Linked DNA regions of Homo sapiens: regions 2, 3 and 4 are each linked to region 1. The links are contacts of gene promoters, found by promoter capture Hi-C in human tissues and cell types (Jung and others, 2019). All regions are on one chromosome and are shown on one strand. The core of a region is centred on a gene start or on the middle of the fragment in contact, and the rest is flanking DNA. Distances in the headings are between cores, read along the strand shown.

The links. Contacts are between HindIII fragments. The study calls those that stand out against the background at their distance.
Region 2: a contact is called between a fragment that was not itself captured here and the fragment with the promoter of ATF1 in region 1, in 1 of the 25 tissues and cell types used here (dorsolateral prefrontal cortex).
Region 3: a contact is called between a fragment that was not itself captured here and the fragment with the promoter of ATF1 in region 1, in 1 of the 25 tissues and cell types used here (dorsolateral prefrontal cortex).
Region 4: a contact is called between a fragment that was not itself captured here and the fragment with the promoter of ATF1 in region 1, in 1 of the 25 tissues and cell types used here (stomach).

What each region holds. Positions count from the first base shown.
Region 1 is chr12:50,760,109-50,766,646 of GRCh38, reverse strand. It overlaps ATF1 (activating transcription factor 1), which reads right to left and starts at 2,546. Exons shown (of 7, transcript NM_005171.5): 1 at 2,340-2,546. RefSeq lists enhancers at 1,683-1,782, 4,083-4,951 and silencers at 2,203-2,292, 2,513-2,592. The HindIII fragment of the contact is 17,018 bases long and covers 1-6,538 here.
Region 2 is chr12:51,241,770-51,248,307 of GRCh38, reverse strand. It overlaps SMAGP (small cell adhesion glycoprotein), which reads left to right. Exons shown (of 4, transcript NM_001031628.2): 3 at 1,477-1,557; 4 at 2,189-3,750. The coding sequence ends at 2,367. It overlaps DAZAP2 (DAZ associated protein 2), which reads right to left. Exons shown (of 4, transcript NM_014764.4): 4 at 4,375-5,978. The coding sequence ends at 5,850. Among named protein-coding and RNA genes, the nearest start is that of DAZAP2, 6.2 kb to the right of the region's middle. RefSeq lists enhancers at 1-357, 358-859. The HindIII fragment of the contact is 4,727 bases long and covers 1-4,302 here.
Region 3 is chr12:50,285,098-50,291,635 of GRCh38, reverse strand. All of the region lies in intron 1 of LOC107984505 (a long non-coding RNA gene), which reads right to left. It also overlaps the pseudogene LOC100418734. Among named protein-coding and RNA genes, the nearest start is that of LIMA1, 4.8 kb to the right of the region's middle. The HindIII fragment of the contact is 5,152 bases long and covers 1,138-6,289 here.
Region 4 is chr12:50,461,008-50,467,545 of GRCh38, reverse strand. LARP4 (La ribonucleoprotein 4) reads right to left here. Exons shown (of 16, transcript NM_052879.5): 11 at 6,199-6,411; 12 at 4,916-4,964; 13 at 426-587. Among named protein-coding and RNA genes, the nearest start is that of SNORD133, 7.7 kb to the right of the region's middle. The HindIII fragment of the contact is 7,756 bases long and covers 305-6,538 here.

The DNA of each region.
Region 1 (6,538 bases), core at 1,297-3,796:
ATAGCATTGGGAGATATACCTAATGCTAGATGACGAGTTAGTGGGTGAAGTGCACCAGCATGGCACATGTATACATATGTAACTAACCTGCAAAATGTGCACATGTACCCTAAAACTTAAATTAAAAAAAAAAAAGACTCCCCTTTTAGAGAGGAAAAAGCTCCCCATGTCCCACGATCCTGTTCATGCCTAACTCTGTCACCCACAGCCATCAGCAAAGAGCGCAAGGCAGATTAATCCAAAGAGAACAGCAGTTAATATCCCATAGTGCCAAACCTGTTCTTAGCTGAGAGGGAGTTACCTGAGAGGGACTCTAACTCCCTATATCTTAGAAGGGCCTCCAACCCAAGGTCAGTCAAGCTTAAGCGTCCTTGCCTTTTATTAAGAGGGGCCTCGAACCCACTGTCTTAGGAGAGACTCCTAAACATAAATACTGGGTTTCCGCAGTATAGTCGCTTCTGTGGCCACCACAAATACGTTACAGGACCCCAACACTTACCCAAAGGTAGCCGTTGGGTCAGGGTTTCTGCACTATAGTCCCTTTGTGGTCGCCAGAAATATGTTACAGGACAGGCGTCCTGATCCAGGCCCCAACTGAGGGTTCTTGGATCTCGCGCAAGAAATAATTCAGGGCAAGTCCACAGTGCGATGTAAAAGTAACATTATGAAGAAAGTAAAGGAATAAAAAGAACGGCTACTCCATAGACAGAGCAGCCCCAAGGGCTGCTGGTTACCCCTTTTTACTGTTATTTCTCAATGATAGGCTAAACAAGGGGTGGATTAATCACGCCTCCCCTTTTTAGACCATATAGGGTAACTTCCTGACATTGCCATGGGATTTGTAAATGGCGCTGATGGGAGTGTAGCAGTGAGGATGACCAGGGGTCACTCTTGTGGCCATTTCAGTTTTGGCCGGCTTCTTTACTGCAACCTGTTTTATCAGCAAGGTCTTCATGACCTGTATTTTGTGCTGACTTGTCTCATCCTGTGACTTAGAATGCCTTAACTGTCTGGGAATGCAGCCCAGTAGGTTTCAGCCTCATTTTACCCAGCTCCTGTTTAAGATGGAGTTGTTCTAGTTCACACGCCTCTGACACCATCTCTATTTAAAAACAAACAAACAAACAAACAAAACAAAACAAAAACTGGCAAAGATAGCACACCCTATATTTAAAGTCAGAAGGGACTGCCACCTGCTGGTGATCGGGTAGGAATGGACAGATAGCTCACAGACCAAACCTAACCCTAAAAGATAACGGCAAGTATTAAAGAGCTAATACATTCGACTTTAGGGCAACAGTATTGATTCTAATTAAGACACGGAGATAACTGCATATGATAAACTCCAAGAAAAAAGAGCATTTTAGAAGAACGCATTTCTGTTAACAAAAACCTCAGGTTAAAATGCATTCTGAGACATAAATGCCTACGAACTCATCACAGGTGAGGCCAGTTTGACAAAGATGCCTGCCAGATCCACGCCGAGCTTCTGAACCCTAAAGGTTCTCAAAGACTACCAGTTGCCCAATCTCTTCAAAACACTAGCGCCACAACCAGACATTATTTCACATTGCAATCATTTCAAAGCGATTCAGCCGCCAGCTGCACGGCGTCGATCAAAGTGAGAAATGCCAGGCTTCGTTTTTTGACATACAAGATCAAAGAGAAAGTCACCCTCGGCTGGGTCGCCCATCCCAAAGGGTACAGACGCCCTTGTGTCATTCCTAGCCAGGGGTAAAGCCGCCTACTGTCCCCACTCTGTCTCCGCTGCCAGGCGCATCTCTCCAGGACTGTCTGGGGCGTGCGCAATGCCCGTGCGTCGGTTGCCCGCTAGACTGCAAGCTCCAGGAGGGTAAGGGGCGCGCCTCTTCCCTCAGGGTCGCCAGCGCCGACGCGCTTCGAGGACCCTGTCGCGGGGTTAACCAGACCCGGGCTCCGCTCGGCGGACACCGCGCCGAGGCCATATCCGCGCCGCCCTCCGCCCGGCTCCGGGCCCAACCTCGAGACCTCCCACGGAGAGCTAGCGCCTGCGACTGCAAAGGGCGGCTTCTGAGGCGAAAGCCACCCCGCGGCGGGCGGTTTCGGGCTTTACTTTTATTTGGGGGCGAGGGAAAGGAGGAGACGCACGACTGGAAGGGCGCAGCGCAGCTCTGCACCGAGGCGCGGAGGCCGGAAGCGCGGGCGGCCCCTCCCCCTGCCGCTGCGCCCCTCCCCCACCGCCACCACCGCGCGCGACCCCCACCAGGCGCGCGACCCGCGCTGCGTCCCCGCCGGCGCCACGTTCCCGCGTCCTTCCCCGCCCGGGCCACGGGGCACGTCCCTCCCCGCCCCCCACTTACCTGTGGCTGCCGCCTCGCCGCTCTCCGGGGCGGGAACTTCCACTCCCCCCTCCCAGGTAGATCCGAATTCACTACCCACTTCCCCACCCCCTCACGCAGCGGGGGACAAGCCTCCTTCTCGGGGGTCAGGCGGGGCGGGGAGAATCAGTGTCACTTAACAGCCAACTGTCCTAAGCTACCGTTTCCTCGGCAGTCAGGGCCGCTACTGGCGGCATGATCTACACAAGCCTGGGGGCGGGGGCGGGGGCGGGGGAGGGGAGGGGGGCAAAACTGAGCACTAGTGTGCGTTTGGGGTAGGCTATGGCGCTGCCTCCGCGCGGGCCGCCGTCCTGCGTCACCGCGCTGCCCACGTGACGCGCCGCCATCTTGTACGCGGTCCTGACTTGTGGCTAGGGGTTCCTCGGAACGCGTTCCTCAGGCTGCAGCGGGAGAGGGACGGTGCCTGCGGTTCCGTTTCTCCTTAGGAGCTGTACCCCACCCGCCCTACGTCCGCTTCCGGAGGCCATGAGCAGCTGGGTGCTCGCGGGGGGCGTTTTCATCGATTAGTGGCGGCGCTGTCAACTCACCTGCCAATTGACCTTGACCGACGCCGGCCCTGTCCTCTTGGAAGGAGAAATGAAGAGTGAAGGCTTTGACTTCCTCAGCTTTTTTTTTTTTTTTTTTTTTTTAGATGGAGTCTCTTTTTTTTTTCCGAGATTGAGACGGGGGTCTGTGGCCCAGGCTGTAGTGCAGTGGTTCGATCTCGACTCACTGCAGCCTCCAACCCCGGGATTCAAGCGATTCTCCAACCTCAGCCTATGGGGCAGCTGGGACCACAGGCGCGCGCTACCACGCTCGGCTTGAAGAGATGAGGACTCTATGTTGCTCAGGCTGGTCTTGAACTCCTGGGCTCAAGTGATCCTCCGCCTCGGCCTCTCAAAGTTCTGGGATTACAGGCGTGAGCCACCGTGCCCGGCCTTACTCAGATTTTTCTTAATCCCATAAAGTAACAATGAGTTGTGTCCTTTAACCCATGTGGAAGGATTTTCTACAGAAACGGATTTACAATGAGACATAACGATGTGGCCGGGCGCGGTGGCTCATGCCTGTAATCCCAGCACTTTGGGAGGCCCAGGAGGGCGGATCACCTGAGATCGGGAGTTCGAAACCAGCCTGACCAACATGGAGAAACCCCGTCTCTACTAAAAAATACAAAAGTAGCCGGGTGTGGTGGCGAATGCCTGTAATCCAAGCTACTTGGGAGGCTGAGGCAGGAGAATCGCTTGAACCCGGGAGGCGGAGGTTGCGGTGAGCCGAGATCGCACCGTTGCACTCCAGCCTGGGCAACAAGAGCAAAACTGTCTCAAAAAAAAAGAAAAAAGAAACGTAACAGAGTGTTAATAAAATGTTATGCCGTCATTTTAATGCATTACAAAAACTTCAGAATATTTTTGGGTCTACCTCTCTGGAAGGGAGTTATGCCTTATTCTTAATTTTTAAAATTTCCTTGTAAAATGCTGTTTTATGGCTTTAATGATAGTAAACGACAAAAGATAAACTTTTTTAGTATGCTCTTGACAAAAGTTCCGAAAGTTTTCTGAAATTTTACTAGTTTGAGATCCCCAATTTAGGAAACCGATTTAGTGGAGAGAGCTTTGCCTATTTTTGGCCCTTTGGGTCGGAGAATGTGATATAAAGCCGAAGATTTACTCTGCCAGACAGTCTTAAGAGGTCACTAACGTTTAGCTATTGACATTCAGCAAAAATTGTGGATTACCTATTAAATGCTAGACCAGGGGACAACTGTTATTAAGTCAGTGTTTCAGCATTACTGAAAGAAAAGTGGCCTATAAAGGTAAGGGAGAGGAAGAGTTTCTCAGATACCAGCCTTCGATGATTAACAAAGTCCAGCCTCAATCATTCTGGAATCCAGAATATTGATGGCTGGAAGGCTGGTTGTACAAGTTTATTGTTCTTTGGTGTTTGGTTTTTTCTTCCGTGGACCACAGAATGCTTAACAAAAGTTGATCAGTAAAAAGCGGGGGAGGGGCTAGGCGTCGTGGTTCATGACTGTAATTCCAGCACTTTGGGAGGTGGGGGAGGGCAGATCACCTGAGGTCAGGAGTTCGAGACCAGCCTGGCCAACATGGTGAAACCCCGTCTCTACTAAAAATACAAAAATTAGCCAGGTGTGGTGGCACACACCTGTAATCCCAGCCTCTCAGGAGGCTGAAGCATGAGAATCGCTTGAACCTGGGAGGCAGATGTTGCAGTGAGCCAAGATCACGCCACTGCACTCCAGCCTGAGCCACAGAGGGAGACTGTCTCCAAAGAAAAAAAATAAAAACCTGGAAATTTTATTGAAAAATGAAACCTTCAAAATGTGCCTTGACTACTTCTTTAGCTCCTCTTCCTTAGTGCCTTAGGTCTAAATCAAATGTTACGCTCGACCAGTCCTGGTGGCATGCGCCTGTAATCCCATCTACTGGGGAGGCTGAGGCAGGAGGATCATTTGAGCTCGGGAGTTTGAGGATACAGTGAGCTGTGATCATGCCACTGCACTCAAGCCTACATGACAGATGAGACACTGTCTCTAATTTTTTTTTTTTTTTTGAGATGGAGTCTGCCTCTGTCGCCCAGGCTGGAGTGCACTGGTGCAATCTTGGCTCGTTGCAACCTCCACCTCCCGGATTTCAGTGATTCTCCTGCCTCAGCCTCCAAGTAGCTGAGAGATTACAGGTGTGTGCCATCACAGCTGGCTAATTTTTGTAGTTTTTTAAGTAGGGACGGGGTTTCACCATGTTAGCCAGTCTTGGTCTCGAACTGCTGACCTCAAATGATCCGCCTGCTCAGCCTCACAAAGTGCTGGGATTACGAGCATGAGCCACGGCACCTAGCCTCTAAAATAATTTTTTTTAAAATTGTTTAAAAAACAACTCAGGCCGGGCACGGTGGCTTACGCATGTAATCCCAGCACTTTGGAGGGCGCGGTGGGTGGATCACCTGAGGTCAGGAGTTCGAGACCAGCCTGGCAAATATGACGAAACTCCGTCTCTACTGAAAATACAAAAGTTAGCCAGACGTGATGGCGTGAGCCTACAGTCCCAGCTACTCGGGAGGCTGAGACAGGAGAATCGCTTGAACCCAGGAGGCGGAATTTGTGGTGAGCCGAGATCGTGCCACTGCACTCCAGGCTGGGCAACAGTGAGACTCCATCTCAAAAAAAAAAAACAAAAACAAAAAACCACGACTCAGTTGACAGAGGAAAAGAAGAAAAAAAGTTATGCTTGTTCAACACTGCCCCTCAAAAATACTTCTGCTTTTCTTGTCTCTTTCTCATTGAAGTATCATAAACTGTGCCTACCAGTCTTCTGAACTGTGATAACTAGATGAAAAAAAAAAAGAGGTCTTGGTTCTGATGCATGCAGTTTATCTGAATAGTAAGTTTCATAAATCAGATGGACAGATCTTTAATATTAGAAGCAAGGAAAGTGAAACAAAGAAACTTAGAGCCATGGCCGGGCAGGGTGGCTCACGTCCTCCGTAATCCCAGCACTTTGGGAGGCCAAGGTGGGTGGATCACTTGAGGTCAGGAATTCAAGACCAGTATGGCAAAACCCTGCCTCTACCAAAAATACAAAAAATTAGCTGAGCGTGGTGGAGCACACCTGTGGTCCCAGCTACTTGGGAGGCTGCGGCAGGAGAATCCCTTGAACCCAGGAGGTGAAGGTTGCAGTAAGTCGAGATCGTGCCACTGCACTCTAGACTGGGTGACAGAGCAAGACTCCACCTCAAAAAAAAAAAAAGAAAAAGAAAAAGAAACTTAGAGCCGAAAGTAATTTTTTTTTTTTTTTTGAGACAGAGTCTTGCTCTGTCGCCCAGGCTGGAGTGCAGTGGGGGTATCTTGGCTCACTGCAACCTCTGCCTCCTGGGTTCAAGGGATTCTCCTGCCTCAGCCTCCTGAGTAGCTGGGATTACAGGCGCCTACCACTACGTCTGGCTAATTTTTGTATTTTTAGTAGAGATGGGGTTTCACCATGTTAGGCTGGTCTCGAACTCCTGACCTAAGGTGATCCGCCCGCCTCAGCCTCCCAAAGTGCTGGGATTACAGGTGTGAGCCACCGTGTCTGGCCAAAAGTAATTGTTTTTTTTAAAATAAACTGGGCAAGCCTGTGGTAGCACCACTTTGGCTCTTCTGGCACACTTTTTTGTTGTTAGAA
Region 2 (6,538 bases), core at 690-3,189, 480 kb before region 1:
TGGCCTTGGGAGAGGAAGCGCTCTGGACAGCCTGCCTCTGCTTTCTGTATTGCAAGATGAGGATGGTTCATCAGGCTCCCCTGGGCCCGCGTGGAAAGACCCTTCAACACTCTTGGCCCCTCTTAGCATAGGCCCACCAGACCACCACTGATACCCTCATTTCACTTGCTGTGGATGGAAACCTGAACGTGTCAGGCACTGGACGGGAGTCATGCTCACACCGCGCTCGGGCCACGCTGGCCTTTGAGTCCCCTGGTCTCAGAGCTTTGACCCAGGCTCTTCTCTCTGCCTAGAATGTGCCCCATCCCTGTTACCCGGTAAACTCTTACCCCTGCTTCAGCTCCCAGGTCAGATATTCCTCCCTTGGGGGGTCGCTTCTGGCTGGAAGACTAGATCAGGCCCCTCGGCTGCACACTTTCCTAAGTGCACTTACAGCAGCTCCTCACCGTGCAAGCTGTGGGGTGCAGTGGAGGGTGAGCCTCGGGAAGCTGGCCGTGTCTGTTTTGCTCGACCTTTCATCTAGCACAGGGCCTAGCAAAGAGGAGGCAGTGGGTGAGTGTTGCTGTTTATGGGATGCCAGTCAGGTCGGGGTGCCTCCTGTGGGTGTTGCCAGGATCAGCCAGCTGGTTTTCCCCAGGAGACCTCTATCCTGCAGTAACCTCTACATTAAAATGCTAATAGGAAAGAATGGAAGGGCTTCCTGACTTCCTGTGTAAACACTTAAAAGGGACTTCTGGAGACCACTCATTTTGTCATGTTCTGTCCCTGGGTAATGACTTTAGGGTGGGACTTTCACGCTCTGAAGGATAAATAAACCCGTAGCAGGAGGGGGTGCAGGATCTATTTTAGGGTAGAGGAGAGGCCTGTTTCAGAACCTTTCAAATTGCAGGGCCTATCCTGGAAGTGTAGAAAAGGGTTTTTAATAGGAGAGGAGCACTATTTCATTATGTTAAAATAATGTTTACAAAGAATTAGTAAGAATGCTGCAAGAAAATGCACATGCTATATAATATAATGTAAATATATACACATACAACTCATTTGATCTCACTTATTGTAAAAATATGCATTCCTAATAATGGCTTATCCTACTGAGTGACTTATTAAATGTCACAACAACGTTTTAAAGTAGGTACTCTTACCTCCATTTTGCAGATAGAGGTTAGGTAATTTTCCCAAGGTCACACAGCTAGTAAAGGACAGAGTTCATATTTGAAACCCAGTCTGTCAGGCTCTATAGCCCCTACTCTTAATCACTATATTATGCAGGGAGAAATCCATCAACATATTGTCTTTGGGTGGTGGTTTATTTTCTTCTTTATTCTCTAGGATTTTCTATTTGGATATACTCTAGGAGTTAAATGATAAACTTTTGAATAGGGAAGAAGGTGGGGTGGTGAAATTTGAAGGCCAAACATATGCTTTCAAACAAAAGAATTCACTCCATTTCCTTTTCCACTTTTCTACATTTTCCAGAAGAACTGATGACCACCCCAATTTTACAGCCCACTGAGGCCCTGTCCCCAGAAGATGGAGCCAGCACAGCACTCATTGCAGGTAATAGACTCTGAGCCAACTCCAAGGGACCTTCTGGATCAAGGGCATCTCTCTCCAGAGGGAGCCTGACCAAATCCATTAATGGGCTCACTCTGGCTTGTAAGTTATATTACACACACACACACACACACACACACACACACACAGCCATAAAAGACTCGGAGGCTTCTGTCAGAGGCACTACCAGTAAATGACAGGTTGGGAGGTGGCCGCAAATAGATATGCATACGGACGTTACACTTGAGTACGTGGGTAGGGACGAGGATATATGTGGTTGGTTGAGTGGGTGAGGAAGAGGGGGAGGATCAGATAAACCACTTCCTGTTAGGATAAGCCATTTCCTGTTCCCTCCTTCCCGTTTCTTTAAGAATCAGGAACTGGTTTGGGAGGCAGTTCAGTTTTGTCAGAAATCAAAAGCATGTGTCCTTAGCTTAAGCACCAGGAGACTCCAGCTATTATGTGCCATGGAAATTGGGGTTGGTGGGGGAACATGGGTTTGGATGGAAGTGGACACTAGTTAATGAAAACAAGAGGATCTTTACGAAAACAGTGACTAAATCAGATGACTCCAGGAACTACTGAGACATCCTCAATCCTGAAACATCTCTACATTTTCCCTCTCCTTTCCAAGTTGTTATCACCGTTGTCTTCCTCACCCTGCTCTCGGTCGTGATCTTGATCTTCTTTTACCTGTACAAGAACAAAGGCAGCTACGTCACCTATGAACCTACAGAAGGTGAGCCCAGTGCCATCGTCCAGATGGAGAGTGACTTGGCCAAGGGCAGCGAGAAAGAGGAATATTTCATCTAATGACTCCCAGGCCCCAAGGAGCTTATTCCTGGCTCCATCGCTAACACGTTGACTGCTTATTATGGGAAAGTTTTCTCTGAAGCCAGGGAGAAGCATTGATTGATGTGGGCAAATCCAAGCTCCAGCCAGGTCGCAGTCCCAAATGCCGACATCACTGACTCCAGGGACCAGGGACATGGAGAAAGCTGTTTATGATATCTTTAACCAGGCCCTCTTACTAGAGCTGGTGTTTGTGACTGGCCAACAAGATGTGGCTATGCCAGGGGACATCTGAGTATGTGCCCAGTCATCTTTTTTCACAGGTTGAAGGGAGAGAAAAGATTTTGAGTTAAGGTCATTGGCTGCTCTACTCTGTCCCCTACCTGGTCACCTAGTGATAGCCCCAGTGGAGATACTGTCCATACAAGGTCTTCCCAGAGGCTGGATACCACAGTAAAAGGCCAGGCCAGGAGGGGTAGGAGACTATGGAGATCTTACCTCCTGATAAATGTGCTACACCCCCTAATCTGAGCCCTTCCTTTCCGTGTTCCCCAACAACCTCATGCTTACGTGATTTTTATTCAAATTAAAAATTTTCATTGCTACAGAAATCAGATTCTCATGTGCAAGAAGTAACTACATTTTGACTTATTTTTGCTTAAACATTTTTGACATTTTCTTTTCCCTATTTAACGCCTTTACATATGTTCTCTTCCAAGCAATAAGAACCCTAGGAAAGTTCTAGAAGTTTGCAGAACTATCTCAGGGATTTGAGACAAAGATGGTGCAGGAAAGCTTGTTCCAGGGGAACATCATTAGAAACATACCCTGGGAGGGCCGGGTTCGGTGGCTCACGCCTGTGATCCCAGCACTTTGGGAGGCCGAGGCAGGCGGATCACAAGGTTAGGAGATCGAGACCATCCTGGCTAACACGGTGAAACCCCGTCTCTACTAAAAATATATAAAAAAAATAGCTGGGCGTGGTGGCGGGCGCCCATAGTCCCAGCTGCTTGGGAGGCTGAGGCAGGAGAATGGCTTGAACCCAGGAGGCGGAGCTTGCAGTGAGCTGAGATTGCACCACTATACTCCAGCCTGGGCAACAGAGTGAGACTCCGTCTCAAAAAAAAAAAAAAAAAAAAAAGTACCCTGGGAGATGAGTTGGTTCAAGCCTCCATCCTGGCAAGGGCCAGAATTTCCCAGAATCCCTTCTACATATATACAGAAGGAACCAGAAAAAATCAACCTACCACCTTTCCCAGTGTATCCTCAGAATCAAGCCAAGAAGCTTCTTGGATTTTAGTCTCAAGATAAGTTGTGTTTAAAAGGCACATTTTGGTATAAATTATTAGCTCATCAGATATTGTTCACTTTGGAATTAAAGCTAGATCTCCTTTGAAGTCTTAATGTATTGCCTCTGTTGTCCAAGCTCAAACCCAACCAAGTTAAGATCAAGAGCTGAGGAATCTGGCTGGGTGCAGTGACTCACTGCCTGTTATCCCAATACTTTGGGAGGCTGAGGCAGACAGATCACTTGAGGTCAGGAGTTTGAGACCAGCGTGGCCAACGCAGTGAAGCCGTCTCTACTAAAAGTACAGAAATGAACCAGGTGTTGTAGCAGGTGCCTGTAATCCCAGCTACTCAGGAGGCTGAGACAGGAGAATCACTTGAACCCGGGAGGTGGAGGTTGCAGTGAGCAGACACTGCCACTGCACTCCAGCCCGGGTGACAGAGGGAGACCCTGTCTCAAAAAATAAATAAAAGAGCTGAGGAATCTATCTTGGCAACCTAGATTCTATGAGTTTTCAGTATTTCTCCACATAGAACATTGGAGAAACTAAAGGTCATCCTCAACGTATACAAATTGCTATACCAGAACCTTTTCTTCAAGCCAAACTTTAGAGCAAGTTAGGAGAATCAATAGTTCCCTCATTTCTAAGTTTAGGTCCGAAATTCCAAAATTTGTAAGAGGTTGGAGTAAAATGATGAAAAGTTGAACATCTGGAATGGAATTCATGAAATGATCAAGTCTTAGGCTTGTACTCCTGCCTTTATTTCAAAGCGTCATCAAAGGAAACAGAGCAGCAGCAGCACCTAGCTGAATTCTAGATGGGATATAAATAAAATATATATAGAAGAAATCTAAAAACAAGCTAAGTAAAGAATCCTTGCAGTGAGGTGTAATGCAACTTCATCACTTTATTCAAATCTTCAAAATAGTCTTTATTCTACATTTTTAGTATAAAAATTCCACAAGTTAAGTGCACCACAGTGTAGAGAGAGACATACAACGCTGAACTTCCATAACAGTCAATGGTACAGTCAAACATCACATGTACAGAACACACAATTTAGATGAACTGAAATTATAAGATAAAATAAAATAAAATCCAATTTCAGAAAACAAAAATCAAAACATTAAGGATCCCTGAAATATTCTTAAACCCTAATGAGATTTCACTGGACTCAAGTCATTTTGTAGTGAGACATTCACAATATGACCCTATTAACCCAGTCTAGGAATTCTGGGGAGCCGAATGAGTGGCCGCATCAGACACTCTGACAAAAAATGGTAACCAGTTTTTGATCTGAAAACTCCTCTTAATTTAGCTCTGAACACATCAATCAAGCTTTTGAAATGCATCCTCCTCCTTGCCCCTCATATTTTAAACCAACTGTTGTTCACAGTACAGTTTGCACGACATCTTTGTTCAAACATAGCTCAGTTTTTCTGGCACCAAAGCAAATTTGGGTTAGGTTCGTGTATGCAGAGACAACCTATGAGGAGGGCCCATAAGGCACCCTCCACTTTTGCCTGAGGAGATACGAAAGCAGAAGTAATGGCATCTGTACTTGGGGCACAGAGAGGGTTTCAGAGGATCCTTGTGAAACACTAGTTAAAAGATGACGAGTGGGGAGAAGTGCGAGGAAAGAAGGAAATTAGTCTGACTGGCTTTCTGTCCTGCACCATTGATTCAATGGAGACTGGCGGGAGGAAATGGAAGACTAGGGTTGGAGATGGGATGGGTGGGGCAAGGGATGGAAAGGAAAAGGCAGACAACTAATGCGTTCCATTTATAACAAGTAATATATATCAAAGACTTAAAGGAGATTAAAGACCAATCAGAATAATTTGGCAACTTTAATTCTTAGGAAGATCAAAGTTCCCTCCAAACCTAATTTGATGTTTTATTACTAAAAGCAAAGACCAGTATGGTACAGTATTACTCCAGAGAAATTAAAGGAAAATCCTTAGGGCGGCTTCACCCACATTCATTTTATGAATGGATACCTCCCCTACCTCAAAATGCTTTAGGGAGGTACTGCTACCATTACATGGTTCCTTATTAAATTTGAAAAGTGCCTGAAAGTTTGGGCACCAGAAAGACACCCCAACAACATGTGTCTAAACTGCAACTTCAGGTTAATATGACTAAAGCAGTTACATTGTGAGAAGTGCTGAAGGTATGTGATGTCTTTCCCGGCACAGAGGTGGCCTTGGTTCCTCACCAGATGGTGTAGCCACCATCTGAACCACCCATGAAGAAGTTCCCCTTCCGCTGAGTTACGAGGACGTTGGCTCCCTGCATGACTGCAAGCTGAGCAGCATTGGGAGGGCATCCAGGAGGTGGAGGCTGAAAGGAAATGACATGATAGAATGGGCACAGGGCAGCTAATATAAGCGAAGGGGACATAGGGGAAGCAGAGGCCTGTTAGGATGAGGCAATGTGCTAACCAGCTGCGTTTTAAGGAGCTAGTTCCGCCACCAATTTGAGTTCTAAAGTAGGTCTATACTTTATGTGAACCCAAAGATACAAACAGGAAAGGGAGCCTACCACTCATTCAAAGGGTTCCAGCTCTAAGATGAAGCCTATGGCTACCTTCTGAACATGAACAGACCAGACCAACAGTCATTTTGAGGGTAGAGAACCACTGTCCTACTCACATTCCCAAAACAGGGACAGGGTGCCAGTCCATGTATGAATCCCACATGGTCCCTACATAGTTTTTAATTTTTAATTTTTTTTTTTTTTAATTTTTTTGAGATAGAGTCTTGCTCTTGTCGCCCAGGCTGGAGTGCAGTGGTGGGATCTCAGCTCACTGCAACCTCCACCTCCCAGGTTCAAGTGATTCTCCTGTCTTAGCCTCCCAAGTAGCTGGGATTACAGACGCCTGCCACCATGCCCGGCTAATT
Region 3 (6,538 bases), core at 2,464-4,963, 480 kb after region 1:
CTCAAACAACTGTATAGGAAAAAAAATCTAATAACTCAATTAAAAATGGGCAAAACATCCGAACAGACATTTCTCAAAAGAAGACATACAAATGGCAAACAGGTTTATGAAAAGGTGATCAACATAATTCATTGATCATCAGAGAAATGCAAATGAAAACTACAATGAGATATCATCTCACCCAGTTAAAATAGCTTTTATCCAAAAGACAGGCATTTATTATTATAAATGCTGGCAAGAATGTTGAGAAAAGGGAACCCTCGTACACTGTTGGTGGGAATATAAATTAGTACAACTATAACAGAGAACAGTTTGGAGGTTCCTCAAAAAACTAAAAATAGAGCTACTATACAATCCAGCAATTCCACTCCTAGGTATATACCCAAAAGAAAGGAAATCACTTTGTCAAAGAGATGTCTGCACTCTCATGTTTATTGCAGCACTATTATTCACAATAGCCAAGATTTGGAAGCAACCTAAGTGTCCATCAACAGATGAATGGGATAAAGAAAATGTGGTACCTATACACAGTGGAGTACTATTCAGCCATAAAAAAAAAGAGAGATCTCATGGGTGCAGTGGCTCACACCTGTAATCCCAGCACTTTGGGAGACCAAGGCAGGTGGATCACTTGAGCTCAAGAGTTTCAGACCAGCCTGGGCCACGTGGTGAAACCCTGTCTCTACAGAAAATACAAAAATTAGTAGGATGTGGTGGCATGTGCCTATGTAGTCCCAGCTACTCAGAAGGCTGACGTGGGAGGACTGTTTGAGCTCAGAGGTTGAGGCTGCAATGAGCCACGATCACACCACTGCATTCCAGCCTAGGCAACAGAGTGAGACCCTGTCTCAAAACAAACAAACAAAACCCCCTAGAAGTTCATATTTTGGTAAGAGTAAAAAATAATTTGGAAGTGGATAGTACTCTTTGGTTGACTCAATTCTTCCAACTATGGAAGGCAAGCAGAAGAGAGAATATGGTTAAACAGATCTTGATTCTCAAGTTTATAATCTAAGGTAAACAATATTTTTTCAAGAATGTTTACTGCCCAGGTGTGGTGGCTCATGCCTGTAATCAAAGCATTTTGGGAGGCCAAGGCAGGCAAGTCACTTGAGGTCAGGAGTTCAAGACATGGTGAAACCCCATTTTCTTTTTTCTTTTTTTTTTTTTTGAGACAGAGTTTTGCTCCTGTTGCCAAGGCTGGAGTGCAATGGCGCAATCTCAGCTCACCTCAACCTCTGCCTCCCGGGTTCAAGTGATTTTCCTGCCTCAGCCTCCCGAGTAGCTGAGATTACAGGCATGTACCACCACGGCCGGCTAATTTTGTATTTTAAGTAAAGACGGGGTTTCTCCATGTTGGTCAGGCTGGTCTTGAACTCCCAACCTCAGGTGATCCACCCACCTTGGCCTCCCAAAGTGCTGGGATTACAGGTGTGAGCCACTGCGAATGGCCAAAACCCCGTCTTTACAAAAAAAATTAGCCAGGCGTTGTGGTGCACACCTGTAATCCCAGCTACTTGGGAGGCTGAGGCATGAGAATCCCTTGAACCTGGGAGGCGGAGGTTGCACTGAGCCGAGATTGTGCCACTGCACTCCAGCCTGCGTAACAAAGTGAGACTCTGTCTCAAAAAAAAAAGAATGTTTACCTATCTATCATAGCTTGCCAGGAATAAAAACAAAATAAAAAACAAGAATATTTACCAAAAAAAAGACATCTGATTGATCAACTATAACTATAAACTGAAATGAAAAAAAAGTTTGGCAGTAAGTAGACTAGATCTAGATAAATAACAATATATGAGATTATTAACTATAAATAATTTTGGAACATTTTTCTTTGGTTTATTCCTAAGGACATGGCAGAAGTTTCATTTTACCAAATGCTTAATGAATTACACCTTTATATACTAAAAGAAGAAGGAGGAACAGAAATCTAAGCTCCTAGTTTGTCAGCTAAGTAAGACATGCCATTTTATTGAATCCCCAAAAGTCAATTAGGAATGAACCTGTAATTCCCATTAGGAAACTATGGTTGAAAAGTTAAGTAACTTGTTCAGGAAAGAACAAAGCAGGTAGGGTGGAAAGTGGGAACAGAGTTAACATTTATTATCAAGTTTGTAGTAAGCAATACCAAATATTTTACATACATTTTCTTGTTTGAGCTTCACATTACCCCTAAAAATACATACTACTCATTAATGTGCTAATAAACAACCAGCTCCCTGGGGAGATAATGTGTGCATATCTATATCTATCTATATAAATCTATAAAAATGTTACTAATATAAAGCATGTGTAGCTTACAGCTTACAAATAATAAATATAAAATACTCTTTTTGTGAATTCCACACAGCCAGTTGATTCCACAAGCTTTCAATAATTTTTCCAAACTCTTCTACCTCAGCCAATTTATGATGGCAATTCAACCATCATTCGATGTTTTCAATCTGCTAATCTTTTCCCAACATATTTCTTGTCCTTAAGTGTGACATTTGATTTACTATTAAACTACCATTCCTCATCCATTACCATTTTTCAACCTCATACAAACTTATTAAAATGAAACTTCTTTCAGTTTTAGCACTATTGATTGCAATAATGCTATCTTTTTAGCTTTTTGTATAATTGCAGGGATTGTAATTTTGTTTGATTCTAAATTATTACTTGCAAAATCTTGAAAATAACTCAAGGCCAGGCATGGTGGCTCACACCTGTAATCCCAGCACTTTGGGAGGCCGAGGTGGGCGCATCACTTGCGGTCAGGAGTTCGAGACCAACCTGACCAACATGATGAAACCCTGTCTCTACTAAAAATACAAAAAATTGCTGGGCGTGGTGGCAGGCGCCTGTAATCCCAGCTACTTGGGAGGCTGAGGCAGGAGAATCGTTTGAACCTGGGAGGTGGAGGTTGCTGTGAGCTGAGATCACGCCACTGCACTCTAGCCTGGGTGACAGAGCGAGACTCCATATCAAAAAAAAAGAAAAAATAATTCAAAATACATGTTTTAAAATTTCACTTAAATGATATTATTTTCCACAGTGAAGAAGTCCAAGAAGGTGATTTTAACAAATAAAAACAACTTAAAATGATGTTTCTAATAAAAGACATGTATTCATTACTTTTTAGTAACACATTCTTAGGCAGAGGTTTAAATCTATTTTTGACTAGGTGTGGCAGTTCATGCCTGTAAGCCCAGTGCTTTGGGAGTCCAAGATGAGAAGATTGCTTGAGGCCAAGAGTTCAAGACCAGCCTAGGCAACATGTGACACCCCATCTCTACCAAAAGTTTTTAAAAATTAGCCAGGTGTAGTGGCATGTGCCTGTCGTCCCAGCTACTTGAGAGGCAGAGGCACGAGAATCACTTGAGTTCAGGAGTGTGAGGTTGTAATGAGCTATGATTGTGCCACAGCACTCCAACCTGGGCAACAGAGTGAGACCCTGCCTCAAAAAAAAAATTATTAAATGGAATGACTTCAAACTGATGACTTAACCAAATATTCAACTTGAGAGTCATGCTTTCTAATGCCAATTTTTAATTTTTCCAAAGCTTTTATAGTGCATTCTATTAATTTTTTAATTTTCTGAATGTTGGTTGATCTTAACTGCAGTGCAACTGAAAGTAATGAAAATTATTTAAGAATATCAATCATTAAAGTAAGGTATTACAAGAAATTAATATTAGCTGATCTTGTTGCTAGGCCAGAATAAAAAGAATGAGAAAAATGCATTTATAATGTAGGATATGTGTGCCATGCAGCATTAGCGGTTGGTAAAGTACATGTCCACCCATCTCAACCTAAGTACTTGGCTAATTTTAATAATTTCAGTTTCAAGTTATTTAGCTATAATTTCCAACTGTTTCCTTTTTTTGGGTTGGTGGTAAACAGAATAAATTTTATCCATAATATTGTTATTTTTTCTTGAGACGGAGTCTCACTCTGTCTCAGGCTGGGGTGCAGTGGCACAATCTCAGTCCACTGCAACTTCCGCCTCCTGGGTTCAAGTGATTCTCCTGCCTCAGCCTCCCGAGTAGCTGTGACTACTGGCGTGCACCACCACGCCCAGTGAATTTTTGTATTTTTAGTAGAGACAGGCTTTCACCATGTTAGCCAAGCCAGTTCTGAATTCCTGACCTCAAGTTATCCGCCTGCCTCGGCCTTCTAAAGTGCTGGAATTACAGGCATGAGCCACCGTGCCCAGACTATCCAGAATATTTTTAAATGATTGACTTGTTTTATTTCAGATACTGAATTATAATTGGTAACAGAACCAAATGATGACATTAGGAAATTTTTCTGACAAATCTGTGGCCACTCCAGTCTTCTTTCCCATTATTGTGAAAGCACCATTAAAACAAAATGCAGCTTACTTTCAACTATTCATTATTAAATTTCAAATATTCATTACTGAAGCCACATTTAAAGTAGACAATATCGGCTGGGCGCGGCGGTTCACGCCTGTAATCCCAGCACTTTGGGAGGCCAAGGCTGGTCGATCACTAGAGGTCAAGAGTTTGAGACCGGCCTGGCCAACATGGTGAAACCCTGTCTCTACTAAAAATACAAAAATTAGCTGGGCTTGGTGGTGCACGCCTGTAATCCCAGCTACTTGGTTGAGACAGGAGAATCACTTGAACCCAGGGGGCAGAGGTTGCAGTGAGCCAAGATCGTGCCAGTGCACTCCAGCCTGAGGGACAGAGCACAACTCTGCCTCAAAAGAAAAAAAGTAAAATAGACAATAATGTAGTAGAAATATAATCTGTGTGGCAGACACCAATTACTTTTTTTTTTTTTTTTGGAGATGGAGTCTCGCTCTGTTGCCCAGGCTGGAGTGCAATGGTGTGATCTCTGCTCACTGCAACCTGTGTCTCTGGAGTTCAAGCGATTCTCCTGCCTCAGCCTCCTGAGTAGCTGGGACTACAGGCGCACACTACTACACCTGGCTAATTTTTGTATTTTTAGTAGAGATGGGATTTCACCATGTTGTCCAGGCTGGTCTCGAACTTCTGACCTCGTGATCCGCCCACTTGTGATCTGCCCACCTCAGCCTCCCAAAGTGCTGGGATTATAGGCGTGAGCCACCGTGCCCAGCTGACACCAATTCTTTTAAAGCAACAAATATCTTTACCAGTACAGAAGCTTATTCAACTGTGTACTGGAGATAAATCTCTAGGTAATTTTCTTCCAATATGTAGATGTCTCATCAATTATAGTGCATATTTGCCATTCTCTTCCAAGATTCTTAAATATGTTGACATAATTTCTTTTGCAGTATGTTCTGCTATTCTTGTTGCACCGTATCATGTATGTAAACATTTGCCTGTATCTACTCCATTTTTCCCTTTCAACTCTATTGTTCCCTTCACTATCAGATAAAGGCCTATGAGTTTTTTGTTTGAGACAGGGTCTTGTTCTGTCGCCCAGGCTGGAGTGCAGTGGTGTGATCTCGGCTCATTACAATCTCCAACTCCTGGGCTCAAGGCATCCTCCCACTTCACACTCCCAGGTAACTGGGATTACAGGCACACACCACCACACCCAGCTTTTTTGTCTGTTTATTTTATTTGTTTGTAAAGACAGGGTTTTGCCATGTTGGCCAGGCTAGTCTCTAACTCCTGGCCTCAAGTGATCCCTGCCTGGGCCTCCCAAAGTGCTGGGATTACAGGTGTGAGCCACTGCACCTGGCCCATGCCCATTCTTTAAGTATTGTCTATGGCTACTTTGGCACATTTGGCACTACAGTGAGAGCTGAGTAGCTGTGACAGAGACTATAAGTCCCACAAAGCCTAAAATATTTACTATTTGGCTGTTTACACAAAAGGTTTGCTAACATATGGTCTAGAAAAATCAACAAAACAATAAATCACGCCCTGACTTGCTGCATTTGCCCATTTCCATGGTGTAAATACTCCCCTTACAGCCAATTTCGTGCTACCAATGTGACATTTCTGAATAGAGTTGGGAAGAGATGCATACAACATATGTAGTATTTCCACAGGGAATACAATGGACAAATAACCTCAAGAGCAGAATTATTAGTAAAATGAAGAAAAAAACTACAAAGTGATGAGTTTTTAATATTTATTATATTTAAAAATTTTTTTTTAGAAATAGGGTCTCACTCTGTTGCCCAGGCTGGAGTGCAGTGGTGTGATCATAGCTCACTGCAACATCAAACTTCTAGCCTCAAGCCATCTTCCCGCCTTAGCCTCCCAAAGCACTGGGATTACAAATGTGACTCAACATGCCTGGCCTATTACTTTTATTTTTAAGATAATTTAATTGTAGCTTATATAATTTGATTTCTAATAATGGTTGTGCTTATGACCTGGCTCATAAAATCCCTGAAAATTTAGCAATCAACCTAATGCTAGCTCTATCTTCAAAAGGAGGCTTTGGGAAAGCAAGTAATTTTTGTATCCACTAAAGCACAGAGCTAAAAAAAATTGGGGGGAGGGGAGACATCTATTGAGGGAACGCCACATGCAGGGTAACGTATTTTCTGGAGTACTATCCTGTATTGATATTGTATGCTCTT
Region 4 (6,538 bases), core at 2,933-5,432, 300 kb after region 1:
AGATGGCTTGAGGTCAGGAGCTGGAGACCAGCCTGGCCAATGTGGCGAAACCCTGTCTCTACTAAAAAAAAATACAAAAATACAAAAGTTAGCTGGGCATGGTTGCGCATGCCTGTACTCCCAGCTACTTGGGAGGCTGAGGCAGGAGAATCACTTGAACCAAGGAGGTAGAGGTTGCAGTGAGCTAAGATCATGTCTTTAAAAAAAAAAAAAACAAAGACATGCAAAAGCCAAGAAACATTTTATTGCCTTTGTGCAGCTTCATCATGAATCTTTAAAAAAACACTCTAAGTATGCTGAAAACTCCATAAATAAAAACTATGATAGAAATGTACACTAAGTGCAAGTAAAATTTTAAATAACAACACTGCAAATAAAGCCTAAATATGGTCTCATAAGGTAAGACTCAGATGCTGGGTGTTTACCTTTTCTTTGTAGACACCTTTAACAACATCAGACATCCTATTCTCCAAAACGAGTTCACCTGGCATTCTTGATGAACTTCCAGGTAAAGGTGGAAAATTTGAGGCTAATAAGTCAAACTTTGGTGTTGGAGCCTTTGATTCAGCTGTTGAAGGATGAGGTCTCTAAAATGAACAAATAATAAAACAGGTCACATGGCTATCTCATTCCCTAATCCTGTGTCACAGAAGCTGAAAGGTGCAAGAAAAGAAAAAGAAGCAAACAAAACCTCTATAATGCACAGAACTGTATCCCTACATAAATTCTTGGTTTGACATCTCACTTGAGCTCTCATCAGTCTTTATCAATTCTACTTTTCTTTAGTCACTTCTCTCACCTGTTTCTTTTGTAAACTTTGCCATACTCCTTAAGCCTTCTAACCAGTCTTTACTATTCATTTCATAATTTGCTATGCCTTCTTAACAAAAACACCCACTTTACCTAAATTTGCTATCAACTCTTTTTTTTTTGAGACAGGGTCTTAGTTTGTCACCAAGGCTGAAATGCAGTGACACAATCATAGCTCACTACAACCTTGACTTCCTGGACTCAAGTAATCCTCCTGCCTTTTTTGCCTCCAGAGTAGCTGTGCGCGCCACCACACCTGGCTAAATTTTTATTTTTTGTTTTTTAGTAGTGACAAGGTTTCACTACGTTGCCCAGGCTGGTCTCAAACTCTTGAGCTTAAGTGATCCTCTCTCCTTGGCCTCCCAAAGTGCTGGGACTACAGGCTTAAGCAACTGTGCCCGCCCATCACCATCTTTCTCCATCTATTTATCTCAAGAGAAAACAATATCCCTCCTCTATATAACATATATGAAAAATCTCATGCTTCCCTCCTGTCTAACACCCTATATATCCTCTGACAAGCCTCTTACCTCTTACTTGTATCTCCTCCACTTTGTCATCACTCCACTAAAATTATTTTAGGTGTCACCAATGCCTTCAACAATGCAAAACCTGACAGACCCTTTTTCCTGACCTCTCATTTCCTGACATATAGCATTTGGTGTGTTAACCATCCTTTCCTTGGGAACACATTTTTCTCTTAGCTTCTGTGATACCTTTTTTGTTTTTTAGATTTGACAGACATGTGCTCTTTTTCCCCTGACCATTTCTAAAATTTTGATGGTTTCCATTTGGTTATTACTCTTTACTTCTCATATTCTCCTTGAGTGATGTCCACTATCCATGGCTTCAACTACTACCTATATGCAAGCAACTGTTAAAACAACCTGTTTTGCTTTTTGGTGGTGATGGCGGTATATCTCTGTAAATTTACAAAAATATCATTGAATTGTAGGTTTTAAATATTTTCAGCCTAGGCCTTTGCCTACAACCGAGATAACATTTGTCCATTACCCATGTCCATTCAGATTTTGCTTGAATACTTCAAACAGCATGCTGAATAATCTCATTTTTCAACCCAACACTGCTGCTTTATTCCCCAAGGTTCCATATTAGACCACTTTCACCACTCTATGGAGAGTACTCTGCATGAGCTTATCACTCCAATTACTATGTGAAGGCTTACAAATCCAAAATTTTATTCCCAGCTAAGATCTCCCTCCTGCAAAAGAGCTCCTCTACCATGACCTACCTACTGGAAGTCATGCCTGTTTCTTTAACCCCAATGTTTAGTCCTCCATCATGACATTTACAACATATTGAATAAACCCCAAATCTAATCTCTCTTTTTTTTTTTTTTTTTTGAGACAGAGTCTGGCTCTGTCGCCCAGGCTGGAGTGCAGTGGCATGATCTCAGCTCATTGCAACCTCTGCCTCCTGGGTTCAAGTGATTCTCCTGCCTCAGCCTCCTGAGTAGCTGGGACTACAGGCACCCACCACCATACCCGGCTAATTTTTGTATTTTTAGTAGAGATGGGGTTTCACCATGTTGGCCAGGATGGTCTTGAAATCCTACCCTCAGGCAATGCACCCACCGGGGCCTCCCAAAGTGCTGGGATTACAGGCGTGAGACACCACGCCTGGCCTGAGCCACCATGCAGGGCCTAATCTCTTATTCCAAATTGTTGAGGGCCACTTGAGAAGTCATGTGGACTGCTACTATGGAATGCTAAGAAAGAATTGTTGGGCTGAGTGCAGTGGCTCATGCCTATAATCCCAGCACTTTGGGAGGCCGAGGCAGGTGGATCACCTGAGGTCAAGAGTTTGAGACCAGCCTGGCCAACATGGTGAAACCCTGTCTCTACTATAATACAAAAATTAGCCAGGCACGGTGGCGAGCGCCTGTAATTCCAGCTACTTGGGAGACTGAGGCAAGAGAATCACTTGAACCCAGGAGGCAGAGGTTGCAGTGAGCCGAGATCACGCCACTGCACTCCAACGTGGACAACAAGAGCGAAACTCTGTCTCAAAAAAAGAATTGTTGGTCAGGCACGATGGCTCACGCCTGTAATCCCAGCACTCTGGGAGGCCAAGGCAGGTGGCTCACCTGAGGTCAGGAGTTCGAGACCAGCCTGGCCAACATGGTGAAACTCCGTCTCTACTAAAAATACAAAAAATTAGCCAGACGTGGTGGCAGGTGACTGTAGACCCAGCTACTCGGGAGGCTGAGGCAGGAGAACTGCTTGAACCCGGGAGTCAGAGGTTGCAGTGAGCTGAGATTGTGCCATTTGCACTCTAGCCTGGGTAACAAAAGCATTTAAAAGATTTAGTATACCCTAAAAACAATTCTAAGTTATAATGGAACATATTTTCTTCTTTGAAAATGGGTTTCTTCTCTCCTACTTCTGCCATGTATAAACTGTGTGGTCCCCATTTGCCTTCAGCCATGATTGTAAGTTTCCCAAGGCCTCCCCAGAAGCTGGGCAGATGCCTGCATCATGCTTCCTGTACAGCCTGCAGAACTGTTAGCCAATTAAACCTCTTTTCTTTATGAATTATCCAGTCTCAAGTATTTCTTTACAGCAATGTGAGAACGGCTTAACGAAAATTGGTACTGAGGAGTGGAGCACTGCTATAAAGATAACTGAAAATGTGGAAGCAACACTGGAACTGGGTAACAGGTAGAGGGTGGAAGAGTCTGGAAGGCTCAAAAGAAGATAGAGATGACGAACTTCCTAGACTGGCTTTGGAGCCTCTGACTCAATTTCAGAGGATGTATGGCATCCTCTGAAAGAAACTTATACCAGCCTGGTATAAGTCCAGACAGAAACCTGCTCCAGGGGCACAGATCTCATGGAAAACTTCTACTAGGGCAGTGCAGAGGGGAAATACGGGGCTGGAGCCCTCACATCAAGCCTCCACTAGGGCACTGCATAGTGGCAGAAGAGGGCCACCGTCCTCCAGACTCCAGAACAGGCATAGAAAAGCCACAGGCATTCAACATGGGCCCATGAGAGCAGCCTCCAGGGTTGATCCCTGCAAAGCCAAAGGGGTGGAGCTGCCTAAGGCCTTGGGAGCCCAACCCTTGCATCAGTGTACCCTAGGTGTGGGACATGGAGTCAAAGGAGATTATTTTGTTTATTATTTTTGAGACAGAGTCTCACTCTGTTGCTCAGGCTGGAGTGCAGTGGCACAATCTGCACTCCACCTTCTGGGCTCAAGGGATCAGCCTGCCTCAGCCTCCCAAGTAGCTGGGACAACAGGCGTGCACCATGGTGCCTGGCTAATTTTTTTTTTTTTTTTTTTTTTTTTTTTGGAGAGATGGGGTTTCATCACCTTGCCCAGGCTGGTATCCAACTCCTGAGCTCAAGTGATCCGTACATCTCAGCCTCACAAAGAGCTGACATTACAGACTTGAGTCGCCATGCCTGGCCAAAGGTGAGTATTTTGGAGCTTTGAAGATGTCCTGACCGTTCTGCTTGGTTTTGCACTTGCATGGGGCCTGTAGCCTCAAGTGATCCACTGACTAAGCCTCCCAAAGAGCTGAGATGACAGGCACGAGCCACGGTGCCTGGCCCGCAAGACCCCGACTCGAGAGGAGGATCACTTAAGCCTGGGATGTGAAGGCTGCAGTGAGCCATGATTGTACCACTGCACTTCAGCCTGGGTGACAGAGCAAGACCCGTTCCTCCTCTGCCTCTCCCTAGAAGTCCTTAATCTTGTACCAAGCACAGTGGCTCAGGCCTGTAATTCCAGTGCCCTGGGAAACAGTAATATCCTGTGTCTTGGAAAAGAAAGAAGAAAGAAAAGGTAAGGAAAGTTAGAAAGACTTCGTGTTTTTATTTAAAAATCATGTGAATACATTAGATCTTCAAATAATTTTTTTAAGCAAGCAACACAAGCGAAGCTCCTTACTACATGTGTGCTAGAGGGTGGGTATATGGGTGGTGGTGGTAAAAATTTCAGGGTTAAATTTAGGCTCTATTTACCTTTGCTGAAGACTACAATCAATAAAACAAAAACCCAGAAAGGAAAGACCGAAAGTCAATGCCATAGTAAATCACAGAAGAGAAAAAAGTCTGAATAAAAGTTTTAAAAAACTTACTGAGATCCTGTCATCTTCTCGTCGTCTTCGACCTCTGAAGAGAGTTCTCCTTTTAATAAGAAAAAGGTGGGGGTGGGGTGGGGTGGAGGGACAAGTCATAAGTTTCTTCAGATATATACATTCTATCAAAGCCGTACACATTTTTTTTTTTTTTGAGATGGAGTCTCGCTCTGTCGCCAGGCTGGAGTGCAGTGGCGCGATCTCGGCTCACTACGAACTGCCTCCCGGGTTCAAGCAATTCTCCTGCCTCAGCCTGCTGAGTAGCTGGAATTACAGGCACGTGTTGCCACACCCAGCTAATTTTGGTATTTGTAGTACAGACAGGGTTTCACCATGTTGGCCAGGATGGTCTCGATCTCCTGACCTCATGATCCGCCTGCCCCACCTCCCAAAGTGCTGGGATTACAGGCGTGAGCCACCATGCCTGGCCAGCTGTATACATTTCAATTTAAACATCTTTCTACATTTGGGGCTAGTTTTCTCTATTACTAAAAGATAATATATTATTCTGAGGGATCTTGAGCCAATTTACTAAAAACTTTACCTACTACCACACCATAAAGTAAGATGAGCCCATTTGTTAGTAGTGATCCCTTCAAACCAGAACCATACTATTGTTTAATTAGGCAAGTTGGCAATATATAACCTCACCCCTATAGTTTATTTATATTTTGAGACAGAGTCGCGCTCTGTCACCCAGGCTGGAATGCAGTGGTGCAACCTTGGCTCACTGCAACCTCTGCCTCCTGGGTTCAAGTGATTCTCCTACCTCAGGCTCCCAAGTAGCTGGGATTACAGGCGCCTGCCACCATGCCCAGCTAATTTTTGTATTTTTTCATAGAGACAGGGTTTCACCATGTTGGCCAGGCTGGTCTTGAACTCCTGACCTGAGATGATCCTCCCACCACGGCCTCCCAAAGTGTTGGGATTACAGGTGTGAGCCACCGCACCCAGCCACTTCTATAGTTTAAAAGCTGGAAGAAATTAAAACCATAAGGCAAATGGATATGTTAATTTTCTAAGCTATTCTTTCTTATATGAGCTATAAGGAACTTCAGAATAACTTTATAAACCTCTGATTCAGAGCTATATTCTGTATGGGCACTCTATTTCTTAATAATTATAAAAAGCAACCAACTCATGTTCTGAAAATAACGTATTTATTTAATATAACCATATACCAATAATTAAATGCTCATTTAATTATTATGAAGATCATGTTCTTCAATTATTCAGGATGATCACATTATTATCAAAGGTTTTCAGGTACTTTATTTTCTTACCTGCCCCTACCATAGTCCCCATTCTGTTCCACCTGCAAAGTGGAAGTCTCCTTCTGAAGGTAAGTTTGCTCCTGATGCCCAGTTACTGTGGGGTTATGCCGTTCAGCTGGAAAGTTTCTTGAACTATATCTGTTCAACTGTCCATCCCCCAAGGATACAGAGCCCTCTGTTGAGTGTTCTGAACCACCAGATGACCTAAACTGAGGCTTCACACTATAGGAAATACAAAATGATATACACAAAGCAGTAAATCGAGACAGAAAAACATCTTTCCTTAGGTAAAAAATTGGCTCCTGTTGTACTGGGGTTTTCAAAAAATTAAGTTAAACACAAAAGAATA